Regions from separate parts of the Homo sapiens genome. Here region 2 is linked to region 1. The links are contacts of gene promoters, found by promoter capture Hi-C in human tissues and cell types (Jung and others, 2019). All regions are on one chromosome and are shown on one strand. The core of a region is centred on a gene start or on the middle of the fragment in contact, and the rest is flanking DNA. Distances in the headings are between cores, read along the strand shown. Region 1 holds the start of RUSC2 (RUN and SH3 domain containing 2). Region 2 overlaps GBA2 (glucosylceramidase beta 2).

Evidence for each region. Contacts are between HindIII fragments. The study calls those that stand out against the background at their distance.
Region 2: a fragment that was not itself captured here is called in contact with the fragment with the promoter of RUSC2 in region 1 in 1 of the 25 tissues and cell types used here (dorsolateral prefrontal cortex).

What each region holds. Positions count from the first base shown.
Region 1 is chr9:35,487,834-35,492,612 of GRCh38, reverse strand. RUSC2 (RUN and SH3 domain containing 2) reads right to left here and starts at 2,502. Exons shown (of 12, transcript NM_014806.5): 1 at 2,441-2,502. It overlaps LOC105376026 (a long non-coding RNA gene), which reads left to right and starts at 986. Exons shown (of 2, transcript XR_929580.4): 1 at 986-1,182; 2 at 1,357-1,494. RefSeq lists a silencer at 2,534-2,833. The HindIII fragment of the contact is 10,278 bases long and covers 1-4,779 here.
Region 2 is chr9:35,743,808-35,748,586 of GRCh38, reverse strand. GBA2 (glucosylceramidase beta 2) reads left to right here. Exons shown (of 17, transcript NM_020944.3): 1 at 1-241; 2 at 3,881-3,972; 3 at 4,175-4,290. Among named protein-coding and RNA genes, the nearest start is that of GBA2, 3.0 kb to the left of the region's middle. The HindIII fragment of the contact is 5,426 bases long and covers 247-4,779 here.

The sequences.
Region 1 (4,779 bases), core at 1,253-3,752:
GATTCCCTTCTACCCCATCACCTAGCTCTATCAGAGCAATGTTGACATCTGGCTACTCAAAATGATGCTCTCGTTTCGTATGACGGACTCATTTGACAAAAATTATATTAAATGCCAATGTCTGAATGGGTGTTTTTTTTTTTTCCTGGGTAACTTCAACACTGATCAATCAAGACCATTTCTAGATAGCCTGCCCTTACCCTAACATGAAGTGAACCATCTCTTCAGTCAAGTGACTTTTAGCAGGGTGCATAGTCATTGTGTATGAGTAACAGGAAGAAAAGGGTGAGTTATTATCCTAAATTTGCAGATAAGCCCAGAGAGAAAAATAGAACACATAAGCCCTCCCATGAACTTGCCAGATTTAGCAAGTAAAAATACAGGACTCCCTGTTGTTTATTTGAAATTCAAATTTAACTGGGCACTCTGCGTTTTATCTGGCAACACTGAAGTATTGGAGGTGAGGAGAAAAATAACCCAGGGTGTTCTGGGGTAACTGAGGTCTTAACAGGAAGCCTAGACAGGAAAAAGTAGAAAAGGCCATTAAAAAGATACTGTTAAAAAAAAATTGTATTGCTTAATCCATCCAGATCAGGAGCCCCTCCCCACACTGGGTTTCTATGATCCAAGGCTTTATTTTGAGACAGAGCATTGCTCTGTCACCCAGGCTGGAGTGCAGTGGCATGATCTCAGCTCACTGCAACATCTGCCTCCCAGGTTCAAGGGGTTCTCCTGCCTCAGCCTCCTGAGTTGCTGGGACTTCAGCCTCCTGAGTTGCTGGGACTACATGTGCACACCACCATGCCCGGTAATTTTTGTATTTTTAGTAGAGATGGGGTTTCACCATGTTGGCCAGGCTGATCTTGAACTTCTGACCTCTAGTGATCCGCCCACCTGGGCCTCCCAAAGTGCCGGGATTACAGGCTGAGCCACTGTGCCTGGCCTGATCCAAGACTTTATAAAGACATGTAAGAGGGTGGGAGACAGAAAGCGGAAAAGGATACATCAAAACTAGCAATGGATGAATGAGAACATGTCCAGCCTCCAGTTAAGGCAACTGTGGCTTCAAAAAGGAATCTTAAATACCAGCACAGAAATCAGAGGGATCCTAACCTGGCTCAAAACAGAAGAGAAACAGTGGCTGGCCATACAGCAGGACGGGCATAACTAACAGAATACCAGGTATACTGTTTGGATCTGCTCTTCCTTCCATTAAGCCATCCACCACTGCTTAATATCTAAGGAGCCGGCTAAGAAAATCCAGTCACTACTTTTATTTGCTAATACTTTGAGCCCCAGTTACAATAATGCCACTACTAATTAGGTAACTACTTTCTACCTTATCAACTCCTACAGCTTTCCAGCCATTGTTTCATCCCTCAGCGATACCACCTGCTTCCGCGTGGAACCCAAACCCCCAGGAAACTAAATCTGCTCAGGTCACCCACCTAGGAATAAATAAAAACAGGTTTCAGGCCCTTTGTCCTTTGTAAATTCCGCCTTTTTTTTTTTTTTAAGGCCTGTGTTCTTTATCACGGACACTGTTCACATAGTGGTAATCCTTGCCTGACTCAGATCTACTTGTTCCTGCGTTTCATTCCTCCGCTGCTCAATTACTTGTTCAAAACGCAAAGGACAACTGGTAGTGAAGACCCTCCACCAGCAACACTACCATGTGCCAGGCACCGTGCTGGGGACCGGGGATACAAAGATGAGTAGTGTACCGTCCTTGCCCCCAGGACAGTTCCCCGTGTCCGCAGGGCCGGCCTGGAGGGCCACAGCCAACTGTGGGCAACAGGATCACCGTGCCCTTCGCGGCAAGTGAGTGCAGTAGTAGGGGACGGTTACTGCCAAGCCAAAGGTTTTCTCCAGGTAAAACTGGATGACAGAGAGACAGAGACTGAAGCAACGCCGGCGCCGGGCGGATAATAAAGGGAGGCAGGGGCTAAAAGGGTGGAGGGAGCAGAGGACCCGGCCGGGAACTGGCAGTAGGGAGGCCCCCGCTGCAGTCGCCGGCCTGGGTGCCGGGCGGCCACGCTTCCCCAAAGCCGTCACAGGGACTTGGGGTACCAAGGTGACTACTGGGCGCGAGTCGTTTTGTGGGGGGAGGGTGTCCCCAAGGGGGCAGTTTGAGGAGACGGTTGGGGATGCATCTGGGGTGGCGCCCAAAGGGACGGTGGGTGCTGGGTGTTTGAAGGTCCGGTGGACGCAGAGCTGAAGGGTCAGGAGAAGGCCAAGGGTCAGAAGGGCTGGGGACGAGGTCTGCCCAGGGGGTCGGGGCGGACGCAGAGGGCGGGTGCAGCCGAGGGGGAAGGGCTGAAGGGAAGGGCAGGCGCTGAAGGCACATAGGTGGGAAGACAGGCCCTCCCCTAAGGGAGACCTTGGAACGCGGGGCAGTGGGTCTGTGGGACCCTGCCCGCCTCCGGAGAGGCGTTCCTACCTCGTTTCTCGCCTCAGCCTCGTCCTTCCGCGCCGGCGGCGGCGGCGGCGGCGGCGTGTCTCGCCCTCCAGGGGTCGCGTTGCAGGCTAGAGGCGCCGGCGGCCCCTCCCTCCGGGCGGGTTGGAAAGGCCGGCCCCTGTCGGCGTGGCGCGATGGTCCGATCTGGGTTGCCCTCAGGCCGCCCCTCCGGGCGGCGCGTTGGTTCGGTCCGCCCGGCCTAAGGTGCTCGCCCCCTCCCCGGCTCCCGCAGCGATGGGCGCAGCCGAGTCACGCGCAGAGCTTTCCCGCTAAGGGAGCGGAGAGGCTTCCGCCGTGGCCCAATCTTCTGCGGCCCGCGCCCGCCCCCGCGGGGTGGTGCCTGGCGACGCGCGGCTCCCGGGTGCTGGAACCCAGGGAAACCTTCCGCGGGCCTCCAGGGCCGGTGGGTGTGAGTCCCAGCTTCGCCTGAGGCGGCGGTTCTCAACGCTGGCTTCCCAGTAGAACCTAGTGTGGAAACTAACCAAACAACAGAAGGAGGGCTGACCTCACACTGGACCGACTCAGAACCACTGGGGTGGAGTGGGGTGGGGTGAGGTGGGGTTGGCCTCCAGTGCATAGCCAGGGTTCGGAACCCCTGATGAAACGTAGAACCCATGCGCCCCCTGCCCTTCAGGGCCGGATGTGTGGGGGACATGGAAGATGCCTGTGTGTGACTCCTGCTGTTTACAGCCAGAGGGGGATGGGGCAGGCAGTCCTGCAAATGTTATGGGAAACCCACTGTATTAGTCCGTTCTGACACTGCTATGAAGAAATACTATGAAGGAAAGAGGTCTGACTCACAGTTCCGCATTGTTGGCGAGGCCTCAGGAAGCTTATAATCATGGCAAAAGGCAAAGAAGTAGCCATCCTTTTCGCAGGGTGGCAGGACAGAGTGAGTGCAGGCAAGGGAAATGCCAGACGCTTATAAAATCATCAGATCTTGTGGGACTCACTCACTGTCACGAGAAGGGCGCAGGGGAAACCAGCCCCATCATCCAATTACCTCCACCTGTTCCCGCCCTTGACACAGGGGGATTATGGGAATTACAATTCAAGATGAGATTTTGGGTGGGGACACAGCCAAACTGTTACAGGTAGTTAGGCATGAGCGGGGCAGGAGAGGGTTCTCCCCTGCTACCCACTAGGGATGTTGGGTGATGGTTCTGAGGCAGGAGAATAGGGACTGGAGGCAGGGAACCTAAGACTGGTTCATGCCAACTTCCTGGAACTAAATTGAAAGGAAAACCCTAACTTTCCACACCTAAGTAACAAACCCCCCACCCAACTTTTCTGCCCAGCAGATGGGAAATTGGCTATCTGCAACCAATTAGACTGACTGCAGCCGAGTCTAACTTTGCATAGAAGTATAACTTTGTAACTTCACCCTAGCCTCTGATTGGTTGCTTCTTGCAACCAATCAGATGTTTGCACAGGTGTGCGACCTTTGTAACTTCACTTCAGCCTCTGCTTGGCTGCTTTCTGCAACCAATCAGACTGATTGCAGGCTACGAATTCATTTACATGAGGTGAGCATGAAGTGGCGGGTAACTTCTAGGGGGTATTTGGACCCAAGAAGATTCTGTTTCCTGGCCCTTGAGCCGCTGCTCCGGCTGCTCCCACACTGTGGAGTGTGCTTTCGTTTTCAATACATCCCTGCTTTCCTTCTTTTGTTCCTTCATTCTTTCTTTGCTTTGCTGGGCGTTTTGTCCAATTCTTTGTTCAAAACGCCAAGAACCTGGACAACTTGCAGTCAGACCCTCTACCAGTGACAGTTCCATAATTACCTCATTGCTTCTTTAAAAAGGATAATTCGGCTGGGCCAGGGAGAGGCCATTTCCTGATGGTCCACACATGTTAACATCAAAATGCTAATTGAATGCAGGCCTCAGGGAGAAGCAACTTTCTGGGCATGCGTGTTAAGAGACAAAAATGGTGACGTATGATCTCCTGGGGGCACCCTCCACCGGAAAACGGGAAGGAAAGCACTGCGCATTCGGGAAGCCCACTCTAAGGGAAGAATCATGGGAAAGAGGCCAGCCTGTAAAAGTCCTAGGATCTTGGTTAGGCACTTGACCTTCTCTCTTTAACCTTCACGTGCCCGCTTGGGTTTCTTCCAAGCGCACCTTCCTTTCTTTCCTGTTCTAAGGCCTTTTTAAATAAACTTCCATTCCTACTCTGGAACTTGCCTTGGTCTCTTTTTCTGCTTTCTGCCCCACAGTCGAATTCTTTCTTCTGATGAAGCAAGGACTAAAGTTGCTACAGACCCATAAGGATAGGCTGCAGGTAACTTGGGGTAACTCAGACCTCTTCCACCACTAACA
Region 2 (4,779 bases), core at 1,710-4,209, 260 kb before region 1:
TGCAGGTTACAGACTGTAAGAGTCCCGAAGACAGCCGACCCCCAAAAGAGACGGACTGCTGCAATCCGGAGGACTCTGGGCAGCTGATGGTTTCCTATGAGGGTAAAGCTATGGGCTACCAGGTGCCTCCCTTTGGCTGGCGCATCTGTCTGGCTCATGAGTTTACAGAGAAGAGGAAACCCTTTCAAGCTAACAACGTCTCCCTAAGCAACATGATAAAGCATATAGGCATGGGCTTGAGGTGAGTAGACCCCATTGCCTAGAATGCCTTTGGCTTCACTTTGTTCCAGCTCAAAACTTCTAGCAGAGGTGGGAAAGGGCAAGAAAGCAGTTGGGCTTCTTGTCTGAGTGAAGCGGTCCCTATCCCTGGCATATTTTAGGCCTGTGGTTTTGGACCGTGAGACCAGGTCACATCTCTTTGCAACACCCTTCCCTCCCAGTGTTTTGTCTTTTCAGAAGGAAAGGGTAGGAACATTTGGTCATGCAATCAGCCTTTCCCATTCAGGCTCTTCTCACATACTGGTTTCCAATGACTTCCCTTTGGGATTAGCTATACTTTGTGGCAAGGTAGGAAAGGATAATCTGGCTGCTGTGATACTAACACAATGTTGTTTTATTTGGGGGTGGGGGGGTCTCAACCCCTTATTTCCCACAAGCAGCTGGGGCATTCTCTGTACCTCATTAGACACACTGTTAGAGTCCCAACACTACTGCTTCTTTCTTCAAGCTTTAGCTCCAGGGAGTAGGTAAGAAGAGCCTCCCTGCCCTCACCTCTGAAGTGATGAGAAGGTGCTGTCATTCTGTTCTGGGATAGAGAGCTCTTGATATTAAGTCATTTATCAGAGAGGCACTGCCATAGATGTAGAACCCATCTAGATCCCCACTGAGTTCAAAGACTAGTGATGAGGAGCCAGACCCATTAACAGGAACAGGTGGATGTGAGGACAGAAAGCATCACCCTGAGGTCATCCTGACTCAGTCTACACAATACACACAGAACTGTGGAGGGAGGCATAAAGCTTGGGAAACCCTGCCCTTACAGTTTCTAGAGTAGGAGACCCTTCATTTCCCCAGTCAGTGCTGTGGGGCTGTGATGGGGAGATCAGTTATCTAACCCTAGCCCTGGGGAGTGGGAAGGGCCTGATGCTGCCTGCACATCTGGCTTTGTTGGTGCCTGTGGGTAGCCTGTAGCAGAGAAGAATCATCCCTCCAGGCTGCTTCTGGAATCAATTCAGTCCAAGTTTGACCCCAAAAGTTTTTGCATCAAAATAGGATCTAGTGTACATAGAGAAGTACACTGAGTTGCATGTGGTAGGAACAATGAGATCAAGAAAAGATGGGCATCCTAGCCTCTTAGCCCTTAAATATGAACTGAGTCATAGAGGCCTGAAGCTGTGCTCAACCCCCTGGACCCTGGCTCCCCATTCCAGGATAGAGTGGGGGGTACTGATACAAGGCTTTTGGAATAGGATGAGTTCCTATGAGGAGAAAGCACAGGTGAGACAAGAATTCTAAGTGATAACTCTTGAGTTGAGGTTGAAATTGTGGAGAAGGCCAAATAGGTCAGGAATGGCCAGCTACCATATTAAGGGAGTAAGAGAGCTCCTAAGATGGAGCTGAACTGTGGGCACTCTGACCAGGAGCTCTAGCAAGACAGAATTCTCTGGGTCTTACCTTCGTAAGAACTCAATTTCAATTGTTCTCCCTTCCAGCCAGAGTCCACTCATTCAATAAATATTTATTGAGTGCTTGTTCCATGCCAGATAGTCCTTTGTTCTGTCTGTCCTCATAGATTGCAGTTACTCTCCCTGGTTGCCCTAATCCTCGGCCACACCCTCCCTCTACCAGTCCTTTCTGGTCTCTAGTTTCAAAGTCCGGTTTTCTCTAAGCTGGCAGAGAGGATTCTCTGCCTTCCTGTCATCCCATCCTTTGTCTTCCCTCTTCTTTCCACCCCTAGAATGTGCTGTCCCTTTTTATTTTATTATTATTTTTTTTTTGAGACAGTCTTGCTCTTGTCACCCAGGCTGGAGTACAATGGTGCAATCTCAGCTCAGTGCAACCTCCGTCTCCTGGGTTCAAGCGATTCTCCTGCCTCAGCCTCCTGAGTAGCTGGGATTGCAGGTGCCTGCCACCACAGCTGGCTAATGTTTTTGTATTTTTAGTAGAGACGGGGTTTCACCACATTGGCCAGGCTGGTCTTGAACTCCTGACCTCACGTGATCCGCCCACCTCGGCCTCTCAAAGTGCTGGGATTACAGGTGTGAGCCACCGTGCCTGGCCGCTGTCCCTATTCATTAATCACATTTCTTCTCCTCTGCTCCAGTCTGTTATCTCTCTTGTGCCCCATCATTTGTATGTTCATTCATCTGTAAAATTGGCAAATATGCATTGACTGCAGACCATATGTCCTACCCTGTGCTTGGACCTGAGGGTAATATTCAGCTAGTCTTTGTCATTGTCCCTTTCCCCAAGGAACTTAAAAGTATGTCAGCCTCACATGAGGAACATTGAAATAACAAGGCAATGTCTGATTAGGAATTGAGATAACAGTTTGTATATATGAGTAATAATCATACCTGTACTTTATGGCTTTCTTATCTATTATGTCATTTGATCTTTCAACCATTTCATTAGATAGCTAGAGCAGGTGGTATCCCCATTTTGTAGATGAGGAAACTGGGACTTAGGGGTTACTTACCCAATTATTTGGTTAGAAGTGGTGTGACTGAACAGTAGGCATAATGTGGCAGTAGGCAGGAGAGTGGAAATGGGAAAGAGTCTGGCAGGGCAGGGGCTACTTAGTGAGGACCCATCTGGAATGAGAATTTGTAGGAAATAAGATTAGAAGATAGGCTGGGACAGATGTCAGAGCCTTGAAAACAGAATCGTTTGCCTATTGAAAACAGCCTCAATCATTTGCCTCTTGGATATAGGGCTGTACCAAGCCCAGGAAAATGTTGGGATTTTTTGAAGGCTTTACCAAGAGCAAAATCAGAAAGCTTCACAGTTTAAATGTTGAATTTAAAAAAAAAAAAAAAAAAGGCTTGAGAGGAAATGTCCAGAAATAAATATAAACACTGATTGTCTATGGGTGAGATTATTTTTTTCCCCCTTTCACCTTTCATAATTAGAAAGAAAAATGATCATTTTAAAAAGAAGAAAGGCCAGAAGCGGTAGCTCACGCCTCTAATCCCAGCACTTTGGGAGGCCGAGGCGGGCGGATCACCTGAGGTCAGGAGTTCAAGACCAGCCTGGCTAACATGGTGAAACCCCATCTCTACTAAAAACACAAAAAAATGTGCCAGGCATGGTGGCGGGCACCTGTAATCCCAGCTACTTGGGAGGCTGAGGCAGAAGAATTTCTTGAACTTGGGAGGCGGAGTTTGCAGTGAGCCAAGACCGAGCCACTGCACTCCAGCCTGGACAACAAGGAACGAAACTCTGTCTCAAAAAAAAAATAATAAATAATAAAAATAAAGATAAGAAAGTTATTCCCAGCAGCCTATGCCTGTTTTGGAGGTAGGGGATTGGGGGCGGAGGCTGTAGGCCAGGAAACCATAAATGGTCCTTTCAGCACGTCAGACAGAAGCTCCTGATGTTGGAAATAAAGCAGTGGTGGTGGTGCTAGAGAGGTAAGGAGAGATCAGAAAGCCCCTTCTGAGGAGAACAAAGGAGAGAAACAAAGCCACTCCTTCACTTCAGCTGGGGTGACTGGGAAGATGAAGGGACCTTGAACTGTATAGAAATCAAGAGGAAGAAAGGTTTGAAAGCAGATGTCCTTGGGACATTTAATGGGAGGTCACAGAGAGAGGCAGGTGACTCAGCCTGTGAACAGCTGCCCACCTGCCCCCTTCCACTCACATTGCCTCTTGCTCCTCAGGTACCTGCAGTGGTGGTACCGGAAGACCCATGTGGAAAAGAAGACACCTTTCATCGACATGATCAATTCTGTACCCCTAAGACAGATTTATGGTGAGCCCCACCCCATCTCTGCTCTGCTCAGAGAAGGCCTAGCCTCCAGGTCTACCACAGTTAGGAAGAGACTTCCAGCTTATGCAAATTGCACTGTTCCATCCCCTAGGTTTTCAGAGGAACCAGGCTTTATAGTCTAGAAAGTTAGAAATGGGCTTATTTTCCTCTCCCAATACCCCACTAACCACCCTGATTTCTCTAGGTTGTCCCTTGGGTGGCATCGGGGGAGGCACTATTACCCGTGGCTGGAGAGGCCAGTTCTGTCGTTGGCAGCTTAACCCTGGAATGTATCAGCACCGGACAGTCATCGCTGACCAAGTAAGAGCCAGGAGGTGGAGAGGCCAGGACAATACCTCCCCAGGCCAAGAAGGAAGGACCTCTTGGCTAGTGTAGAAGGTAGCAGTTAGATGTGAATAAGATTCAATCTAATAAGTACTCTCGGGATGCTTCCTGTGTGCCCAGCCCTGAGCTAGGATATACCGTAGGAATAAGACACACACAAGCACACATTCCTTGAAAGAGTAAACAGATCTGGCATTTCTCTAGTAAATGCCTCCTGTCTACCTCACTGCCCCAACCCAACTAGCTGAGGCAGCCCCCAACCACAGAGAATGCAGAGAATTCCCAAATCACTTAACCTGCCTGAAAGAACATTTTGTAGGACTGGAAGGGAAAAGAAAACCCAAAGTCTATAAACTCATGGGAAAAAAAGACACGTAGTACAAGGTTCCTCACCCTGATTGAGGAACCTTCACCAAAGTTCAGCTCCTCTGCTGATCACTCCCCTGGAGGTCTCCTGGCTTAGGG